3 separate regions of the Homo sapiens genome follow, and regions 2 and 3 are each linked to region 1. Evidence: promoter capture Hi-C in 16 types of primary human blood cells and fetal thymus (Javierre and others, 2016). All regions are on one chromosome and are shown on one strand. The core of a region is centred on a gene start or on the middle of the fragment in contact, and the rest is flanking DNA. Distances in the headings are between cores, read along the strand shown.

What was found. The method cuts DNA at HindIII sites, captures the fragments that hold promoters and counts their contacts. A CHiCAGO score of 5 or more calls a contact.
Region 2: the fragment with the promoter of RND1 here is called in contact with the fragment with the promoter of TUBA1C in region 1 in 1 of 17 cell types (non-activated CD4 T cells); the score reaches 7.4 in non-activated CD4 T cells.
Region 3: a contact is called between a fragment that was not itself captured here and the fragment with the promoter of TUBA1C in region 1, in 2 of 17 cell types (total CD8 T cells and fetal thymus). The highest score is 6.5, in total CD8 T cells.

Annotation. Positions count from the first base shown.
Region 1 is chr12:49,263,641-49,266,371 of GRCh38, reverse strand. It overlaps TUBA1C (tubulin alpha 1c), which reads right to left and starts at 1,290. Exons shown (of 4, transcript NM_032704.5): 1 at 1,188-1,290. The coding sequence starts at 1,190. RefSeq lists silencers at 661-874, 1,229-1,488, 1,529-1,968 and an enhancer at 939-1,098. The HindIII fragment of the contact is 8,287 bases long and covers 567-2,731 here.
Region 2 is chr12:48,864,503-48,867,202 of GRCh38, reverse strand. It overlaps RND1 (Rho family GTPase 1), which reads left to right and starts at 1,333. Exons shown (of 5, transcript NM_014470.4): 1 at 1,333-1,555; 2 at 2,333-2,420. The coding sequence starts at 1,436. RefSeq lists enhancers at 1,010-1,139, 1,400-1,519. The HindIII fragment of the contact is 16,374 bases long and covers 1-2,700 here.
Region 3 is chr12:49,743,123-49,746,015 of GRCh38, reverse strand. All of the region lies in intron 1 of TMBIM6 (transmembrane BAX inhibitor motif containing 6), which reads right to left. Among named protein-coding and RNA genes, the nearest start is that of TMBIM6, 3.0 kb to the right of the region's middle. The HindIII fragment of the contact is 1,355 bases long and covers 904-2,258 here.

The sequences.
Region 1 (2,731 bases), core at 41-2,540:
TGCAAGCTCCGCCTCCCGGGTTCACGCCATTCTCCTGCCTCAGCCTCCCGAGTAGCTGAGACTACAAGCGCCTGCCACCACGCCCAGCTAATTTTTTTTTTTTTTTTTTTAGTAGAGACGGGGTTTCACCGTGTTAGCCAGGATGGTCTCGATTTCCTGATCTCGTGATCCACCAGCCTCAGCCTCCCAAAGTGCTGGGATTACAGGCGTGAGCCACCGCGCCGGGCCGGGTTTGCGTTTTTTTGAGACAGTTTCGCTCTGTCGTCCAGACTGGAGTGCAGTAGCGCGATCTCGGCTCAGGGAAACCTACGCCTCCTGGGTTCAAGCGATTTTCCTGCCTCAGCCTCCCGAGTAGCTGGGATTACCGGCGCGCGCCACCACGCCCAGCGTTTTTTTTTGTTTTTTTTTTTTTTTAAAGTAGAGACGGGGTTTCACCATGTTCGCCAGGTTTGTCTCGAACAAGTGCTGGGATTACAGGCGTGAGCCACTGCGCCGGGCCAACTCTGGTTTTATAAGAAAATATCCTTTTGTGGACGTGTTTTTAAACCCGGCTTAAGTAGAAAGCTTCAGCTATAAACCTACCACTAGATTAACACCAGAAATGCAGGATTAGGCAACGTGAAAGTTAATTATTCCCTTCCAAGGAGGTGCCTGCCTCCATTCTCAAGTGGACTGGCGCAGTTGGAAGCTCTCCCCAGGGCAGGGCCACAGGTGACTCAGCAGCGAGTCACTGGGCGCTGGAGAGGGGGAGCCAGGAAGTGCTGCACCGTCGGTGCGGGAGCGCACGAGGGCCTCCGGGGCCCAGTTTGTAAGGCAGTAGGAAGGAGAGGTCGCTTGAGAAAACGTGGGGAGGGATTTTTAGTTTAAGTTCTTGGAGGCCAATGAGCAGGCTCCCTGACCTTCCTCCCTAGGGCAGTAGCGGGCCCTGCGGGGAAAGCCCTCACTAGGATCAAGAGGGCTTTCCATTTCCACTGATGGCCGCACCCGGGCCAGGTTTTCCGGCCCGAACTGGTGTCTGCCAAGTGAACTCGACCTTCCAGCCCGGCCGCCACAAGCCAGGTTAACCGGAGGGGCCCGGGGTAGTCTGGAGCTGTCCTGGGCGCGGCCCGAGGTGCAGGCAGTAGTTTCCGGGCCCGCCGTCCCCTGGGACGCGCACTCTTCCCCAGCCCCGAGGGAACCCCACTCACCATGACTAGAACTTGAAGGGGTCTGCGGCGGTGAAGGAGGCGAAGGGACGGCAACAAGGATCTCCCACTAACAGACTACCAAGGAGTCCGGGGGAGAAGTAGTGAAAGGGTGGCCGGCCCCGAAGGGCCTTATATACCCGGTCCCCGGCCACGTGTCGGGAGGGCGGGCCCCAGACCCCGCCCCGTGCCGCTGCGGCCCCACCTTCGAGCCCTGGCCTGCGCCCGGCCGCACCCGCGGAGTGGGGGCGCGCGGCGCTGATTGGCGGATTCAAAAGTTCAAACCAAACTCGTCGGAAGGAGCCAGGAGCAGGAAGAGGAGGAAGGGGAGGAAGGGGAGGAAGGGGAGGAAGGGGAGGAAGGGGAGGAAGGGGAGGAAGGGGAGGAAGGGCAGGAAGGGCTCTGGGGCTGGAGAATGGGCCGGGACAGGGACAGAGGTGTCCACTGGGAGGAGGGAGCAGGCCGGACGTCTGCCCCGTCCCCGGTGGGTGCGGGGGCGTCAGGTGGGCAAAACCCCAGCGAGGGGAAGCTCCAGGTAAGAGGGCGACCGCGCCCAGGAGGGAAGCCCTTACTGCACCGCCCCGGCCTCGCCCCCGGTCCCCGCGGCTGCGCTCCCTACGCCGCCGGGGAGGCGCCGACGCCGGGACCAGGCTGCGGGTTCCGCCTCGGAGTCCTGGCTGCCGGGCACCCCGGCTGGGCCCGCGGGCGCCCGCTCCCCTCGCCGCTGAGGGCTGTCCAGAGAGAGGGCTTGCTCCCCACTCTAGGTCTGAATCACCACGAACGCGCCTTAAACTCTATTCCCACCTTTTTGGTTGCTTTTCCTTACGTCCTCTTTAAATGAGCCTTTGGCTTCTAACAGTCTCCTCCCGATAGGCGCAAAAGCAGTTTTTTCAGTTCATTAGGATAATGAATAGCTTACATTTTTTGATTGCTAACTATGCAGAGTAGTTGGCTTTTTTTTTTTTTTTGAGACGGAGTCTCGTTCTGTCACCCAGGCTGGAGTGCAGTGGCGCGATCTCAGCTCACTGCAACCTCTGCCTCCCGGGTTCAAGCGATTCTCCTGCCTCAGCCTCCTGAGTAGCCGAGACTACAGGCGCGTGCCACCACACCTGGCTAAATTTTTGTATTTTTAGTAGAGACGGGGTTTCACAGTGTTAGCTAGGATGGTCTCGATCTCTTGACCTCGTGATCCGCCCGCCTCGGCCTCCCAAAGTGCTGGGAATACAGGCGTGAGCCACCGCGCCTGGCCGAGTAGTTGGCTTTTCATATCACATGATCACATTTCATCCATATGACAAACTCTATGAATTATTATCCCTAGTTTACAGATGAGGAAAGTAGAGCTCCGAGGAATTAAACCCTTCAACACTAACTTGTACTGCGTCATACTAAATGTGCCTCTCTGACCATCTCTGCCAAGGTTTCTCAGAAGCGCCTTTTATTTCTGTTGTTTTTGTTTCTCTGCAACTCTATCATGTTATCTTAGCTCATGAATTCCTTGACCATCTCTGGGAGATACAGAGTTTATGGAAATATTGAGGGAACAA
Region 2 (2,700 bases), core at 84-2,583, 400 kb after region 1:
ATTCATCCAGGAAGCTGAGCCTAGGCCGCAGAACAAACACCCCTAAGCAGCTTCTGCTAGGCATGGGTGAGAGGCTGTCTGGCCAAACAGTGACTGTGTTTGCTTTGTCTTCTTCCTCTCTCCCACCCCCACTTGCCAGAGTCCCTCATTTCTCTCTGCCCATCACTGGGTCAGGTGCTGTGTGTTTTTTTTATGGATGACTCTAGAAAGTTTTCTCTTTCTCTTTCTCTCTCTCTGTCTTTGGTGGTGAAGGTGATTCTTGAAGAAGAGAAGGCTTTAAAAGGGGCACAGGCCGGGCACGGTGGCTGACGCCTATAATCCCAGCACTTTGGGAGGCCAAGGCGGGCGGATCGCCTGAGGTCGGGAGTTCGAGACCAGCCTGACCAACATGGAGAAACCCCGTCTCTACTAAAAATACAACATTAGCTGGGCATGGTGGTGCATGCCTGTAATCCCAGCTACTCGGGAGGCTGAGGCAGGAGAATCGCTTGAATCCGGGAGATGGAGGTTGCAGTGAGCTGAGATCGTGCCATTGCACTCCAGCCTGGGCAACAAGAGCGAAACTCCATCTCAAAATAAATAAATAAATAAATAAATAAATAAATAAATAAATAAATAAATAAATAAAAGAGGTACAGCAGGAGCTGATATTGGGAGGGGAAATAAAGGGAAGTAAGAACTGGTTTGGATGGGAATTAGAAAAAACAAAAAAGTCAGACATCAGGCCAGGCGCTGTGGCTCATGTCTGTAGTCCCAGCACTTTGGGAGGCTGAGACAGGCGGATTGCTTGAGCCCAGAAGTTCAAGACCAGCCTGGATAACATGGTGAGACCCCTGTCTCTATTTAAAACAAAAGATGTAAGGAAAAAAAAGAAAAAAAATGTCAGAGAAGTTCTGGGCCACCTCCCCCATCCCCTACTCCTCCAAAACACACACACACACACACACCTGTCTATAGTCTAAGCAGGTCCTGCTTTTGTAACCCACCCGGGACAGTCCCTGCAACTCCAGCCTGACCTCACTTCCTGCTTCCATAGCTAGTTTGTTTTTCTGACACTTATTGGTAGACACTCCAGATCATTTCATTTTGCTTCCAGTACCCTTTCCACTTCCTAATACAAATGCAAAACAACCTGGGAATCCCCTTTCAGGGGGAAACAACGGTGCAGCTTTAAGAGAAAGAGAAGGGAGGAAGGGGGCGCTGACTCAGATCCTCAGATCCATTGGCTGCTGGAGGGAATCCCACCTCAGGGATTGGGCGTAACAGAGTCCGCCTCCTCTTGTGATTGGCTCAGCCAGAAAAATAAAAGGCGGCTGTGCCGGCCTCCTCCTCAGTTGGAGGGAGGCAGGGAATCTGGCTTGATTGGCGTGCTGAGACGCACCTGGCGCAACCCTCCCTTCTGAATCGAAGTTCAAGTCCCGCGGACACTGCAACCATGAAGGAGAGACGGGCCCCCCAGCCAGTCGTGGCCAGATGTAAGCTCGTTCTGGTCGGGGACGTGCAGTGTGGGAAGACCGCGATGTTGCAAGTGTTAGCGAAGGATTGCTATCCAGAGGTGAGCTGCCCGCCCGCCCGCTGGCCGGCTTTTCTCCCTGCCTGCCCGCCTTGGGGTAGATTTCCACCTGCTCAGGAGACGTGGCTCCCCCAGCCCCAGCCCATCCTCAGCCGCTTTCTGAGGCTTTACCATCCTCAGCTGCTTTTTGGCTGGAGGACTGCCCTGCCTTAGCTTCCCCTGAGACCTGTTCCACTTCTGCCGCCCCGCTGGCTCCTCCTCACCTCTTCACCCAGAGGACCCATCAGATCCCCTCCACCTTCCTGCGTCCCTGGAGTCTGCTCTCAGGTGAGGGCACTGGAGGCATTTGAAAGTCTGGGGTTTCTTCTTGACGTAATCCCTGCCTATCCGCTCACCTGCTCCTCAAAGGCTCTATGCCTGTGCCTTCAGGCAGGCTTCTGCAGCCCCTCTGTTCACCTGGCCGGGAGGGGTTTGAGAGGAGATGAGCTAGGATTGGCTTTGGCCTGTGGCTCTCTCAAATTGGGAAACACAAATCTGGGGATGGGAGGAATCTGTGTGTGTGTGTGTCCCTGATCGCCTAGGATATGGGGGGCTTACCCCTGGTGTGGTGGTGTGGGGGGGTGTCATTCACATTTCTCACTGCTGCAGAGCAAAGTGCCTGGTCCTCCACAGTCCCTTCCCTCCTGCCCCAGGCATCTCCTCTGGTTTCTTGTCTCCTGTGACTTTACTGTCTCTCTGGTGAGTGCGTGTGTAGCCAGCACTAACCAGGGGATCTGAGGGTAGGGGTGCATGGGGTGAATGTTTCCTCTCTTTTCACAGACCTATGTGCCCACCGTGTTCGAAAATTACACAGCCTGTTTGGAGACAGAGGAACAGAGGGTGGAGCTTAGTCTCTGGGATACCTCAGGTAAGAATTCTGCTCCAAATACCCCTTTCCCACCCCTACTGGTCTGCTGTGTAGCTGCTGTCTTTTAGAAATTGTTTTCCCCTTTGGTGGGGAGAAGTGAAAAAAGAGGATCTGAAGACTCATTAGTTGTGGGGAGGGCTGACAGTTGGTGGACTCAGTTGCATGGTCCAAGGGTGCAGAGTGGGTGAACCCCAGGAGCCACTCTCTTCCCTGGGTCTGGTTCCACCCTTTAGAGGGCTGGGATGGTGAGGTGAAGGGACCCATGAATAGTCCTGGGGGT
Region 3 (2,893 bases), core at 332-2,831, 480 kb before region 1:
ATAGATGCTCGATTTACAATGAAGTTACATCCCAATAATCCCATTGTAAACTGAAAGTATCGTAATTTATGCACTTACTACATATAACCTACCAAACATTATAGCTTAAGCCTAGCCTACCTTACCTTAAATGTGCCCAGAACGCTTACATTAGTCTGAAGTTGGGCAAAACTATCTAACGCAAAGCCTACTTTATAATAAAGTGTTAAATATCTCATGTGAAAATATCATACCAGATATCCCTAGTCTGGGAAAAGATGGAAATTCTAAATGTGCTGGGTTTTTTTTTTTGAGACAGAGTCTCGCTCTGTTGCCCAGGCTGGAGTGCAGTGGCACGATCTCAGCTCACTGCAACCTCTGCCTCCTGGGTTCAAGTGATTATCATGCCTCAGCCTCCCAAGTAGCTGGGATTACAGGTGTGTGCCACCATGCCCAGCTAATTTTTGTATTTTAAGTAGATACAGGGTTTTGCCATGTTGGCCAGGCTGGTCTCAAACTCCTGACCTCAAGTGATCTGCCCACCTCGGCCTCCCAAAGTGCTGGGATTACAGGCATGAGCCACCATGCCTGGCCTGAAGTACAGTTTCTAGCAAACAGGTAGCACTTTTGCATCATTATAAAGTAAAAAATCATTAAGTCCAATCATCATAAATTGGGGCCCGTCTGTACTTTTGTTTAAATGGCATACCTTTCTTCTAGCACATTTATACTATCTCTCTTGTCCCACAGGGCCATGGACATTTTGAGACAGCCTAATAGCCACTAAGTGATAATCTGATATGGTAAAGGATTTGATGAAGTAAATGCGCAAAAGCTTGATGCTTTCCCTGCCACTCCCAGGAGGTAGGTCAGTTCAGTTTCGGAACCATCCAAGGAATTGTTTCATTCAACTAGGACCAAGCTTTGATCTTCCCAGGTGGACACCCTAGATGTCCCCGCCTCTCCCTTAACTTGGACCCAAATCCCTGGATTAGCTAATACTGAATCCATCTCCTCCAGGGGGCTGCCTCAAAACCAAACCAGTAACTGGAGATGAAATGCCTACTGCCTTCAGTAAATTATTTTTTGTACCAAACGTTGACACTACTTCATCTCCCTCTCTATAACGTTTGACAGATACTGAATCCTAAGAAGGCCCCAAAATCCTAAATACATAATCTTCTTCCAGTATAAACCAGTAATCCCTCCCTAATAACACCATATTTAGCCCAAATGGGGAGCACACATAAATTAAGACAAACAGCATACCCACTTCACCCTCACTGGTGAAGCTCCTTTTTCACGTGTTTTGGATTCCAGTTAATTGTGCAGAAACTTCTCACCCTGAGGGCAGAGCTTGCATCTGGTTCAGCTCAGCTATCCCCAAGATTTAAGCACTACAAAGTCTCTAGAGCAAATTTAGACCCTATTATCAGATCAAGAGTGCTGTAACCTCAAATCAACATTCCCCAGCTGGCTCAGAGTGGAACCTACCTCAAGGGGTCACTTAGGTAACCTTTAAGTCAAGGAGACAGCCTTTCTCTCCTTGGTCTCGAACACCATCTTTGGAAAACAAAATGTGTATAAAAACTACGAAGGGCTGCATGCAGTTTGGTTAGAAACTCTGGGGGAACAAAACAGAGTGGTAGAAGACATTTCTACCAGATTCTACAACCAGGTCAAAGTAGTAAAGGAAAAAAAATCAGAAGTTAGAGCATCAGAATATTCAATGGTTTCTCTAGAGAAAATTAATACCCTTGGGCAGTTTACGAAATAAAATGAAACTCGTCAGGCCAGCAGTAGTACCTTCTATACTAATACTCCTGACTATATTTATATAAAATTTATAACTTTTAAGGTGCTTTTATATATGTATCACCTTCAATCCTCACACATCAACCCACAAGGAAAGGGAAAGATTAGGCCCATTTTATACATCTTTTTTAAGTTCAAAAAGGCAATGTAATAGTGGCAAGAGGACAGGATTTGGTGTCACAAGTGCTGCCACTTTCTACTATATAACCTAGGAAAAATCATTTTACCTAAGGTTATTTCAGCTTCCTCATCTGTAAGATAACGATGATGATCAATACCTGCTCTACTGAATGCCAATAAGAAAATCTGTGTGAAATCAACGTAAAGTACTAAAACAAACATTAGTATTGATTTGACCAACATTAGAAAGTTAAATAGCAGAGCCAGAACCAGATTTGGGGTCTTCTGACCACTATAGTCTAGTGCTCTTTTTACTATTCCATCCTACAGTAGAAAAATAAGCTTTCATTTATATAAGCTTTCAAAAGTTTCAGCCATAGGTGAAAACAAATCTTTAAAACAAAAAAACCCTCCCAAAACATACATTGATTCCTATGACATTTTTCTGCATTTTCAGCATTTGTATAAAGAGCGCGAACTATATCTATAATCAGGGAAAATAACTTGAAAATGCTAAGTATCTAGATTAATTTTACCTTTTCTTATTCTTCAGGAGAGATGACTCTTTTTCTTTAGGAAAGGATTACACCTGTAATCCTAGCAATTTGGGAGGTCAAGGCGGGCGAATCGCTTGAGGTGTGGAGTTCGAGACCAGGCTGGACAACTTGGCAAAAGCCCGTCTCTACTAAAAATACAAAAATTAGCTGGGCATGGTGGTGCGCGCCTGTCATCTCAGCTGCTTAGGAGGCTGAGGCATGAGAATTGAATGCACCAGGGAGGCGGAGGTTGCAGTGAGCCGAGATTGCACCACTGCACTCCAGCTTGGGTAAGGGAGTGAGACTGTCTCAAAAAAAAAACATAATAATAATAATAAATAAATAAATCGCTTGAGTTCTGGAGTTGGTAAGCCTGGGCAACATGGTGATACCCCATCTCCACAAAAAATACAAAAATTAGCTGGAGCTGGTGACGTCCACCT